Linked DNA regions of Homo sapiens: region 1 is linked to region 2. Evidence: promoter capture Hi-C in 16 types of primary human blood cells and fetal thymus (Javierre and others, 2016). All regions are on one chromosome and are shown on one strand. The core of a region is centred on a gene start or on the middle of the fragment in contact, and the rest is flanking DNA. Distances in the headings are between cores, read along the strand shown.

The links. Contacts are between HindIII fragments. The CHiCAGO score rates a contact against its expected background, and 5 or more counts as called.
Region 1: the fragment with the promoter of PSMD5 here is called in contact with the fragment with the promoter of STOM in region 2 in 3 of 17 cell types (naive CD8 T cells, activated CD4 T cells and total CD8 T cells); the score reaches 7.1 in naive CD8 T cells.

What each region holds. Positions count from the first base shown.
Region 1 is chr9:120,839,926-120,844,992 of GRCh38, forward strand. PSMD5 (proteasome 26S subunit, non-ATPase 5) reads right to left here and starts at 2,997. Exons shown (of 10, transcript NM_005047.4): 1 at 2,812-2,997. The coding sequence starts at 2,984. It also overlaps the pseudogene CUTALP. RefSeq lists enhancers at 2,618-3,147, 2,719-3,018, 2,906-3,200, 2,966-3,260, 3,219-3,568 and 1 more. The HindIII fragment of the contact is 10,742 bases long and covers 1-4,346 here.
Region 2 is chr9:121,367,996-121,372,792 of GRCh38, forward strand. STOM (stomatin) reads right to left here and starts at 2,255. Exons shown (of 7, transcript NM_004099.6): 1 at 2,132-2,255. The coding sequence starts at 2,192. LOC102723324 (a long non-coding RNA gene) reads left to right here and starts at 1,898. Exons shown (of 7, transcript NR_187160.1): 1 at 1,898-1,971. RefSeq lists enhancers at 2,260-3,220, 2,680-2,769. The HindIII fragment of the contact is 8,041 bases long and covers 1-4,797 here.

The sequences.
Region 1 (5,067 bases), core at 1,747-4,246, 530 kb before region 2:
GCCTGGCCAACATGGTGAAACTGCATCTCTATTAAAAACACAAAAAATTAGCTGGGCGTTGTGGTGGTGGCACGTGCCTATAGTCCCAGCTACTCAGGAGGCTGAGGCAGGAGAATTGCTTCAACCTGGGAGGCGAGGTTACAGTGAGCTTACATCCTGCCACTGCACTCCAGCCTGGGCAACAGAACGAGAACCCGTCTCAAAAAAAAAAAAAAAAAAAAAAGGGCCTCACTCTGTCACCCAGGCTGGAGTGCAGTGGTGCAATCTTGGCTCACTGCAACCTCTGCCTCCTGGGCTCAAGGGATCCTCCCCCTCAGCCCTCTAAGTAGCTGGGACTATAGGCACGCACGCCCAGTTAATTTTTTGTTTTGTTTTGTAGAGACAGGGTTTCACCATGTTGCTCAGGCTGGTCTCAAACTCCAAAGCTCAAGCGATCCACCCGCCTCAGCCTCCCAAAGTGTTAGGATTACACGTGTGAGCCACTGCTCCCGGTCTACAAAGTGTTTTTATTATTATTATTATATTATTATTATTATCTTGAGATGGAGTCTCACTGTGTTGCCAGGCTGGAGTGCAGTGGTGCAATCTTGGCTCACTGCAACCTCCACCTCTCAGGTTCAAGTGATTGTCCTGCCTCAGCCTCCCAACTAGCTGGGACTACAGGTGTGCGCTACCAAGCCCAGCTAATTTTTGCTTTTTTTTTTTTTTTTTTGAGACGGAATCTCACTCTGTTGCCCAGGCTGAAGTGCAGTGGAGCGATCTCGTCTCACCGCAACCTCTGCCTCCCAGGTTCAAGAGATTCTCCTGCCTCAGCCTCCAGAGTAGCTGGGACTACAGGCACGTGCCACCATGCCCGGCTAATTTTTGTATTTTTAGTAGAGACAGGGTTTCACTATGTTGGCCGGGTTGGTCTCGAACTCTTGACCTTGTGATCCACCCGCCTCGGCCTCCCAAAGTGCTGGGATTACAGGCGTGAGCCACCGTGCCTGGCCTAACTTTTGTATTTTTAGTAGAGACGGAGTTTCACCATGTTGGCCAGGATGGTCTCGATCTCTTGACCTGGTGATCTGCCCGCCTCAGCCTCCCAAAGTGTTGGGAATACAGGCGTGAGCCACTGCACCGGGCCTACAAAGTGTTTTTAATCAAACACTACGGATGTGTAAAAAATCAAAAATAAAAGTTGTCCTACTATTTTCAGACCCACTTCCCTATTAATAGTTTCTGGTGTACCTTTGCAGATATTTGCAATGTTATACAAGTTTTACATGCCTGTGGGGGTTGGGAAGATTGTAATCCTTTTTAAAAATTACAGGTTAAAATTATAGATTGATATACCCTGCGATTTTCTTTTTCATTCAACAACACAGAGATTGGCCGGGCGCAGTGGCTCACGCCTGTAATCCCAGCACTTTGGGAGGCCGAGGCGGGCGGATCACGAGGTCCGTAGATCGAGACCATCCTGGCTAACATGGTGAAACCCCGTCTCTACTAAAAATACAAAAAATTAGCCGGGCGTGGTGGCGGGCGCCTGTAGTCCCAGGTACTCGGCAGGCTGAGGCAGGAGAATGGCGTGAATCAGGGAGGCGGAGGTTGCAGTGAGCCGAGATCGCGCCACTGCACTCCAACCTGGGAGACAGAGCGAGACTCGTCTGAAAACAAACAAACAAACAAAACAAAACAAAACAAAACACAGAGATCTTTCCATGTCCACATACATATATATACATCTACCTCAATAACTTAAATAACTGCACAGTGTTACAGAGTAATAGCGCATAATTTGGAATCCTCTGTTAACGGATATTTAGATTGTTTCTAGTGTTCTGGTGCCACACACGATATGTTATATTCTTGCATATAATGTTGTAGGGTCCTCCAGTCGCCCCCTTTCTTTCTCTGTCCTGATGGAAAATCAGAGTGCCTTGATTGCTCTCTGACCTAGCCAGCGGCAGGTTTCCCTAGCAGGCTTGACCATAAACCAGGGGCCTTGAACATTCACAGGCCTGATAAAGGTACCTAGGTTGTTGCCCAAAACACTGGAAGAAACTGGCCTCAACCCTGAGCCAAATTCCTTTAAACTCTCATCTGAACTCCATACCCTGACCCCCTCACTGCGGACATACCCAGGAACACCTTTCTCCCGGTGTCCGTCTTGACAATTTCTGCAGCCCTCTGCAGGTTTCCCCCTAAACGCTTTTGGACTGATCGCCTTGGCATTCAGTGCTTCTTTTTCTGTCATCCCAACCAGCCACATCTCGGGAAGGTTTGAAGCACTCCCTCGTGGGAACTCTCTTGCCGCTGCTTTTGGGGCGATTCCAGCCTCGGGTTCGAAAGAACAAAGTAACTGCACATTTTGTGCGCGTATACTTGCATTAAATTTTTTTAACAAGAATGACTGGATGAAAAAGCATGTGAATTTAAAATGCTGATGGTTCTTGCCACATTGCCAGGATAGGATCCTTTTAGAAGGGGAAACAAATCAAGAACCTGTACAAAGAGATGTGGAATGCTCCTTGTAAGTGGACAGCTTTGCTTTCCTCCTTTAATTTCTATTTGATGAAGAAGGCAGTGCCTCACTGCTCAGAGGCAGCGAGGCCAGGCGACGGGAGAAAACACCCTGGGGCACTCTCAGAGGCTGAACCTGAACCCCATCTCCTGCCTCTGAACCCAGGATCCTTCCTTCTCTGCAAATTTCGGCTACTTTCCACCTCCCCTGTGACTGGGAAAAGCGCTGTTCTTGCCCTCAACCACTCTCATGTCCATATTTAGGGGTGCCCCTCTCCTCGGCTCAAGCCCCCGGGGTCCTCTCACCTATGGTTCTCGTTAAGCAGGGAGAAGAGCGGGCCGAGGCGCAGCTCCGCCGCTTGCTGGCGAAGCTCGTTGAGCGGCACTGCCTGCAGCACGGAGTGAAGCGCGCGTAGCTCCTCCAGCGGCGCTTCCAGCCTCGCTACCTCTCTCAGCAGCGCCAAAGCCTGGGCTGCCATCTTGCCCCCCGACGCAGGGGCTGGCCCAGCGGCCCAGTTCCCGGGGCGCTTTCCTGAACCTCGCGAGATCTGATCACAGCCTCCTTGTCCCTGAGATGGCTATGGGGCTGCCAAGCCTCGCGAGAAGCCTCCGTTAGGGCCGTGTCAACTGTAGCCAGTGGTTGCGGCTCCCTCAGTCTGGCGTCATCTAGGTCGCTGCTCAGGGAAATGCGGAGGCCAGTAGGCTTACGTGTTTACCGCGTAGGGCAAAGCCTTGCCAAATTCCCGGCCAGCGGAGCGGCGAGGGTGGGGACTCACGGGAAGTTAAACAGCCTCGTCGGCGTCCTCGAGGCTCCAAAACCAGGCTCTAGGCGGGGACGACTGCAGCCGTTATGGAGGCCACCGCGGCTACGGCCGCGGCTGAGGCCTCCCCAGGTGGAGCGGTGGCCTGGAGGGGAATCTTGATCCTGGGCCAGCCACCTGTCAAGAGGAGGCGGAGCGTCATGCCTCTGGAAGACTGGATGAATATTCTCCAGGAGCCTGACGAAGGCGTGAGTAATAGGGACGTGCGCCGCCTTGTTGGTGTTGATCAGTCCACCAAGGAGAAGCAGCTGGTCGCAGTGGCCGTACCTGTAATCCCAGCGCTTTGGGAGGCCGCGGCGGGAGGATCGCTTGAGCCCGGGAGTTCGAGACCAGCCTGGGCAACATAGTGAGAAACCCGTCTCTACCAAAAAGAAAAAAAAAAAAAAAGGAAAAAAATTAGTGCGGTGTGGTGGCACGCACCTGTAGTCCCAGCTACTCGGGAGGCTGAAGCGGGAGGGTCCCCTAAGTCTAGGAGGTCGAGGCTTCAGTGAGCGGTGATTGTGCCACTGCACTCCAGCCTGGGCGACAGAGCAAGACCCTGCTTTCCCCTCTTGTCCTCCACTACCCTCAGGAAACCAAGAAAGACCAGCGTGGAGAGTTGGTCGCCCATCTGCTCTAAGCTGCTGTGTATTCCCCTGTAATGTAAACATCGTGAAGGTGGAGACCCAGTTAACCTTTTAGGTGGAAGGCCAGATGACAGAGGGCGGCATCTGACCCGGAAGGCCCTCTGCAACCAGGCCAAATACATCTACAGGGAACCAATGGGAAACATCTGGGGAGGACAACCCAAATAAGTATCATGCGAGCAAGGGATGGTTTGAGAACTTTAAAAATCGCTGCTGTTTTGCAACATACGAAGTTGATGGGGAGGAAGGACCCTTAAATCCTGAGTGGGTATCGAGTATTCCAAGCAACTGGAGAGAGGCTTTGTGCCTCAACAGGTCTTCAACGCCAAGGAGATGACCCATCTTTTGCAGTGCATGCCTTCCTACTTTTGGGGCAAAAGACAAAAATCTGGAAAGCTTAGAGGAAGCTAAGGACAGGATTTCCCTCATTTTTTTGTGGCAGTGCCTCAGGTGACAAAATGATAAAACCACTGCTGCTTTACAAAGACTCTAACACCCCACTTGTCTTTTAGAGATAAACGCCTTCCTGTTTTCTTGTAATCACACCCAGAATCACCACTGCCACTTTTTGGATTAGTTTTACAATTTTTTTATCCATCAAATCCGAAGTCATTTAACAAAAAAAATCTGGAAATCAGAATGTTGCTAACTGTGGACAGAGGTCCCAATCACCCAGATTCATTATTCTTTGTTCATTCTAATGTTGATACTGTGTTTCTCCCTCAGGAAGGCCCTAGCTTTCTTCAGCCCTTGGGTCAGGGTATAACTGAAGCATTTGAACATAATCAAGCATATGTTTGACCACTTTGCTGACTGTATTGAAAAAACCCTCACCTTACTCTGAAAGAAGCATGGCAACAGTACAATATTGCCGATGCTTTGGTAGTGATAAAAGAGGTGATGGGTGATATAAAATCAGCCACTCTTAAGCTTGCTGGAAACTGTGGGAGGATGTGTGAATGATGCATATTTCCCTAGAGCTAATGAAGAAGTTAAAAAAAATCTTAGTGTCTGCAAAACAGGTGGGTTTAAGATTTATTGATATTAGGGAAAGTGAAATTAATGAGCTACTCAAGTTTCTGTCTTTGGTCATCACTGAGAGTCTATTTCCATAG
Region 2 (4,797 bases), core at 1,005-3,504:
TTTCCTTGTAGAGCTGTTACAGAATGCAATTAGATAATGTTTGTAAAGCACTTAAACTGTCTTTTGGCACAGGGAAAGCATTCAATAACCTCTATTTAATAAATTCCAGCAATACCTTTCCTAGTAGCGTCAAATTTGTTAGGTTTACATTAAAAAAACACAGACTATGCAAAATTTTATTTGTATGTCTAATTTTTGAGAGGAAGTGGTGGTTTTCATTAGATCTTGAAAGATTTCTGTCTAAACAGTAGTTAAGTGTAGAACCAAGGAAAAAAACTGGAAGTTAAAAACTCATCTATGACCACTTGTCTGTAAATAAACATTAAGTACAAAGATCATGTTGATTCTCAAAGAACTCCAAGCAGATTTGCCACTGCAGTTTCCCACCAGGAGGTCAGGGTATTGAGGAATGCATGCTAATACCCACCTTTTTATCTAGGAAAAGACAACTAACTATCGAAGAGGCAGTTACCACCCATTTTTTCCCTATTCAAGTTTTAGAATCAGTCAAATCTAGATTTAAATACAAACTAAGTGACTTTAAGTAATTTAACTTCTTTGACTATCAGTTTCATCAAGTATAATATGGGGATAAGAATACCTACCACATCATCTGTTGTGAAGATTCAATAAAATAATATATACATAAAATACGTGGCACTGGGGGGGTCGCGGTGGCTCATGCCTGTAATCCCAGCACTTTGGGAGGCCGAGGCGTGTGGATCACTTGAGGTCAGGAGTTTGAGACCAGCCTGACCAACATGGTGAAACCCTGTATCTACAAAAAATACAAAATCAGCTGGGCATGGTGGTGCACGCCTGTAATCCCAGCTACTTGGGAGGATGAGGCAGGAGAATCACTTGAACTCGGGAGGCGGAGGTTGCAGTGAGCGGAGATCACACTCCAGCCTGGGCAAGAAAAGCGAAACTCCGTCTCAAAAAAAAAAAAAAAAGTGATACGGAGCCTGACCTATTTAGTTTCAATTTTTGTTGTTGTGGTTGCCATTATTCTCATCAACTCCTCCCTGTTACACTCTCCATTTGGGAAGATAACCTGCAACGTTATTAGTAGACAAAAAGTGAGGAATAAAGATTTCTGTAATTCCTTTGATGCTCCTGGGAAGGAACTGAACACAGGGATCCCTGGACAAGGGAAATGGAACTTATAGCTAAGATGCTGTGGATAAAGCTGGCTTTACAAATAATCAGAATAGATGACTCCAATGTCATGTTCTTTGAGGGGTCCTGGAAAGGACCACCCAGCCCTCTAAATTGCTTTCACTGCCATCCTGCCTGAAATTCCATCTTTAGAAACACTGTAATTCCTCTGGATCACTAAGAGCTCCTGAGTGGGTACCAGGACTCCTGAGAGGTCCACCATCTCTCTTTATTGGAACCCCCTCCCCAGAGTACCAGTTCCTCCACAGGGGAACGAGACTGAGCCACTTACAGCTCCTGCCTTGAAGACTGGGAAGGGAGGGTGGGGGTGAGGGTGGGAGAACTCAGGGTTCCTGGCGAGGAACAAAAGCCGGGAAGGAGAGTTCTCCAAAACGCAGAGGAAAGCGGAGGGGGAAAAATGGGGCAGAAAGTGGAGCTAGAAAGAGAGGTAAGAAGAAAGCCAGAGAGACTTCTTCCTTCTGCAAATCGGTCTAAGTTTCGGGAGGTGGGATTGGGGGAGGAGGGGGTTCACCCTGGGGCCAGGCCAGGGCTGGGTGGAGGAGGCGGCCTTCGAGAGAGTGAGTCGGGAAAGAAGGGGAGTGGGCAAAGGGTGAGATGTGGGGTCCCGGTCCCCGCCTCGCTGGCTGCCAGTTCCCTCTGCGTTTCCTAGTCCGCGTGCGTGACACGAGATAGTGCAGCCCTGGCATGGGGCTTGGCATCTGGCGGCCGCGAGATAACCAGGGCCCGTGCGATGGGAAACGTGCCGTTGGCAGCCCGCCACCCCTCCATCGTGACCTCAGTCTGCCAAACAGGGTTCGTGATGCTCAGTTTACTAGGGAGGAGCCGCGGCTTTGAGATCTCGCCCAGCCCGAAGCAGCGGAGACTGGCCAGGAGCCCGGCTGTCAGACCTCGGAGCGCACGCTGCGGGCGGGGGCTCGGTCCACGGGGGAGGGTCAGGGGACGCGGGACTCACCCTTGAAGGAGTCGGGGAGCCGCTGGGCTTCGGAGTCCCGTGTGTGCCGCTTCTCGGCCATGCTGCCCGAGACGCAGTCGCACTCCCCCGTCCTCGTTGCCAAACCCGGAGCCGCCGGGAATGCCCTGAGGAGCCAGAGGCACAAGACCCAGATTGCCGCCCCGCCCCCAATCGAGGTCCCGCCCTCGTGAGAGTTGGCCAATCAACGCCCAGGATCGAGGAGGACCCACCTCCCAATCCCCGCCCTCCTGTCCCTCCACGGCGCGACTGCTTCGCAGTCACTTCCCGCTAGTTCTGTGGGCTGAGGGGCGTGGCCTGAGGGGCGTGGCCTGAGGGGCGAGAGCCCCCAAGGCTGTGGGTATGAGGCCGGGGCCCTGCACCGGAAGGGAGGGCGGAAGCCACGGGACGTGGAGCAGATGGTGAGGATAGTGGGGAGGTAGCAGCAGAGGATGACCCGAGGCAAAAGTGCAAGTGAAGAAAAGTCGCCTTGCCGGGCAGAGGTACGGGACCAAGGCGCCTCCTCTGGGCTGAGGAGTTAGAGGGAAGAAAATGGCGCCCTGTCATGAGGGCGCGAGGTCCGAGTTGAGGGGAGAAGACTGAGGGACACAGAAGTGGCCGAAGTGAGGGCGCTGAGGTCAGCCTGAGCTGAGAGGGCCGGCAGATCACGCCGCAGCCGAAGTGAACGAACTCGAGTGAGGTGTGTTAAGAAAATCAAAATGTATAAATTTGGAAAAGGAGAGGAGGCCGGGCGCGGTGGCTCACGCCTGTAATCCCAGCACGTTGGAAGGCCGAGGCGGGTAGATCATCTGAGGTTAGAAGTTCGAGACCAGCTTGGCCAACATGGTGAAACCCCGTCTCTGCTAAAAATACAAAAATTAGCCGGGCGTGTGGCGCGCGCCTGTAATCCCAGCTACTTGGGAGGCTGAGGCAGGAGAATCGCTTGAACTTGGGAGGCAGAGGTTGCAGTGAGCCGAGATGGCCTGGGTGACAGAGCGAGACTCCGTCTCAAAAAAACAAAACAAAAAACAAAAAAACAGGAGAGGAGACTTTATTTCTTGTAAGGGGTTACAGCCTGCAAGGTGGCCATTCCGCAGGCTGGAGAATGGCCAGGACCAGAGACAGGCATTTCGTTGGAGGAGGGGTTGGAGTAGCGGCTTTATGCTGAACAGCTTGGGTAGACATGCATATTCAGCAGGTGACAGGAGGAGCTATGAATATTCATGAGGGTGGTCCTGACGCATGCCCATTGAGCAAACATGCATGTAACATACAACCCATGTTCATTTTGGAGTGAAGAGTTACCAATTAAATGTTAAATGCCTGGCCTGCATGGTGACGTCCCCATCTCTACAAAAAGTAAAAAAAAAATAGCCAGGTGGGGTGGTGTGTGCTTGCGGTCCCAACTAGTCAGGAGGCTGGGGCAGGAGGATCACTTGAGCCCAAGAGTTGGAGGCTGCAGTGATGTATGATCAGATCACTGCACTCCAGCCTGATGGACTCTAAAAAATAATAACAATACATGTATTACAGTTAGACCCCATGCGTCAAAAGGTCTTTTCAGGACAGGAAGGTGTGCAAGTATGCAGTCTGTGTAAACTAGCCAGAGCCAGTCCATGGTCGGTAGTTTTCCTATGAGGAGAAAGTTACTGAAATCAGCCTCTTGTCCAATTAAAGCTGTAATGATGGCTGGTGGAATAGGGGTTCCATTAGGCCACATCTGGTGGAGCTGCAAATTGTTTTAATATTGCTTATCTCGAGGCCAGTGCTTGTTAAGCTGCTAGAGAAAGAGAACAACCTTGTGGCAGTTAGAACACAGTTTATTCTCTAAGTGAAGGGATGTGTGCCTTAACCTTTGCCTGGCATGACCTTAGGTATAATTTGTTTATAATTTGGTATCTTATTGTCACAAACAGTCTGTTCTGTCAGTCTTATGATCTGTGTTTTAACGTTAATGCTGGTCAGCTGTTGTGTCTAAACTCCAATACGATGAAGTTATAATGAGGCGAGTCTGACCTTCTGTCCTGTCATTGGCTGGGAACTCAGTTTTAAAGTTTTCTGGAGTCCCCTTGGCCACAAGGGAGTCCATTCAGTCGGTGGGGTCATTTATTCAAACAAAATCTTCTTGGAGCATCTTCCATGTGGCAGGGAGTGTGCTAAGGGCCTCGTGGAGTTTACCTTATACTCTAGTTGGGAGATGGGCCACAAACAAGTAATTGAATCATTACACATGGTGAAGGAAGCTGTGAAAGGAGTGGAATATTCGGAGAACAGCAAAGGTTAGGACAGGGGAACACCTCTGTAAGGAAGGGGCTTTGAGATGTCGCCTGAGAAATGAGAAGGAGCCAGCCTGGGGAAGGGGAATAAGCGGTGCAGGAGGTGGGAAAGGGTATCCCAGGTAGAGGGAAAAGCATGTGCAAGGGCATTCCCAACCTCAGGCCTTCTCTTGGGGTGTGGCTGAAGACCTCATATTTGGAAAGTAGGCTGTGTTTGCATTAGACTTGTTCTATTGCACAATGTTCAAAGTATGTTAATGTACACAAGGTGCACTTATAAAAACATTCGATTTTGAAATAAGTACAGATTCACAGGAATTTGCAACAACAGTACAGAGAGGTCACATGTCCCCTTTACCCAGTTTCCCCCAATAGTTACGTCTTACTTAACTA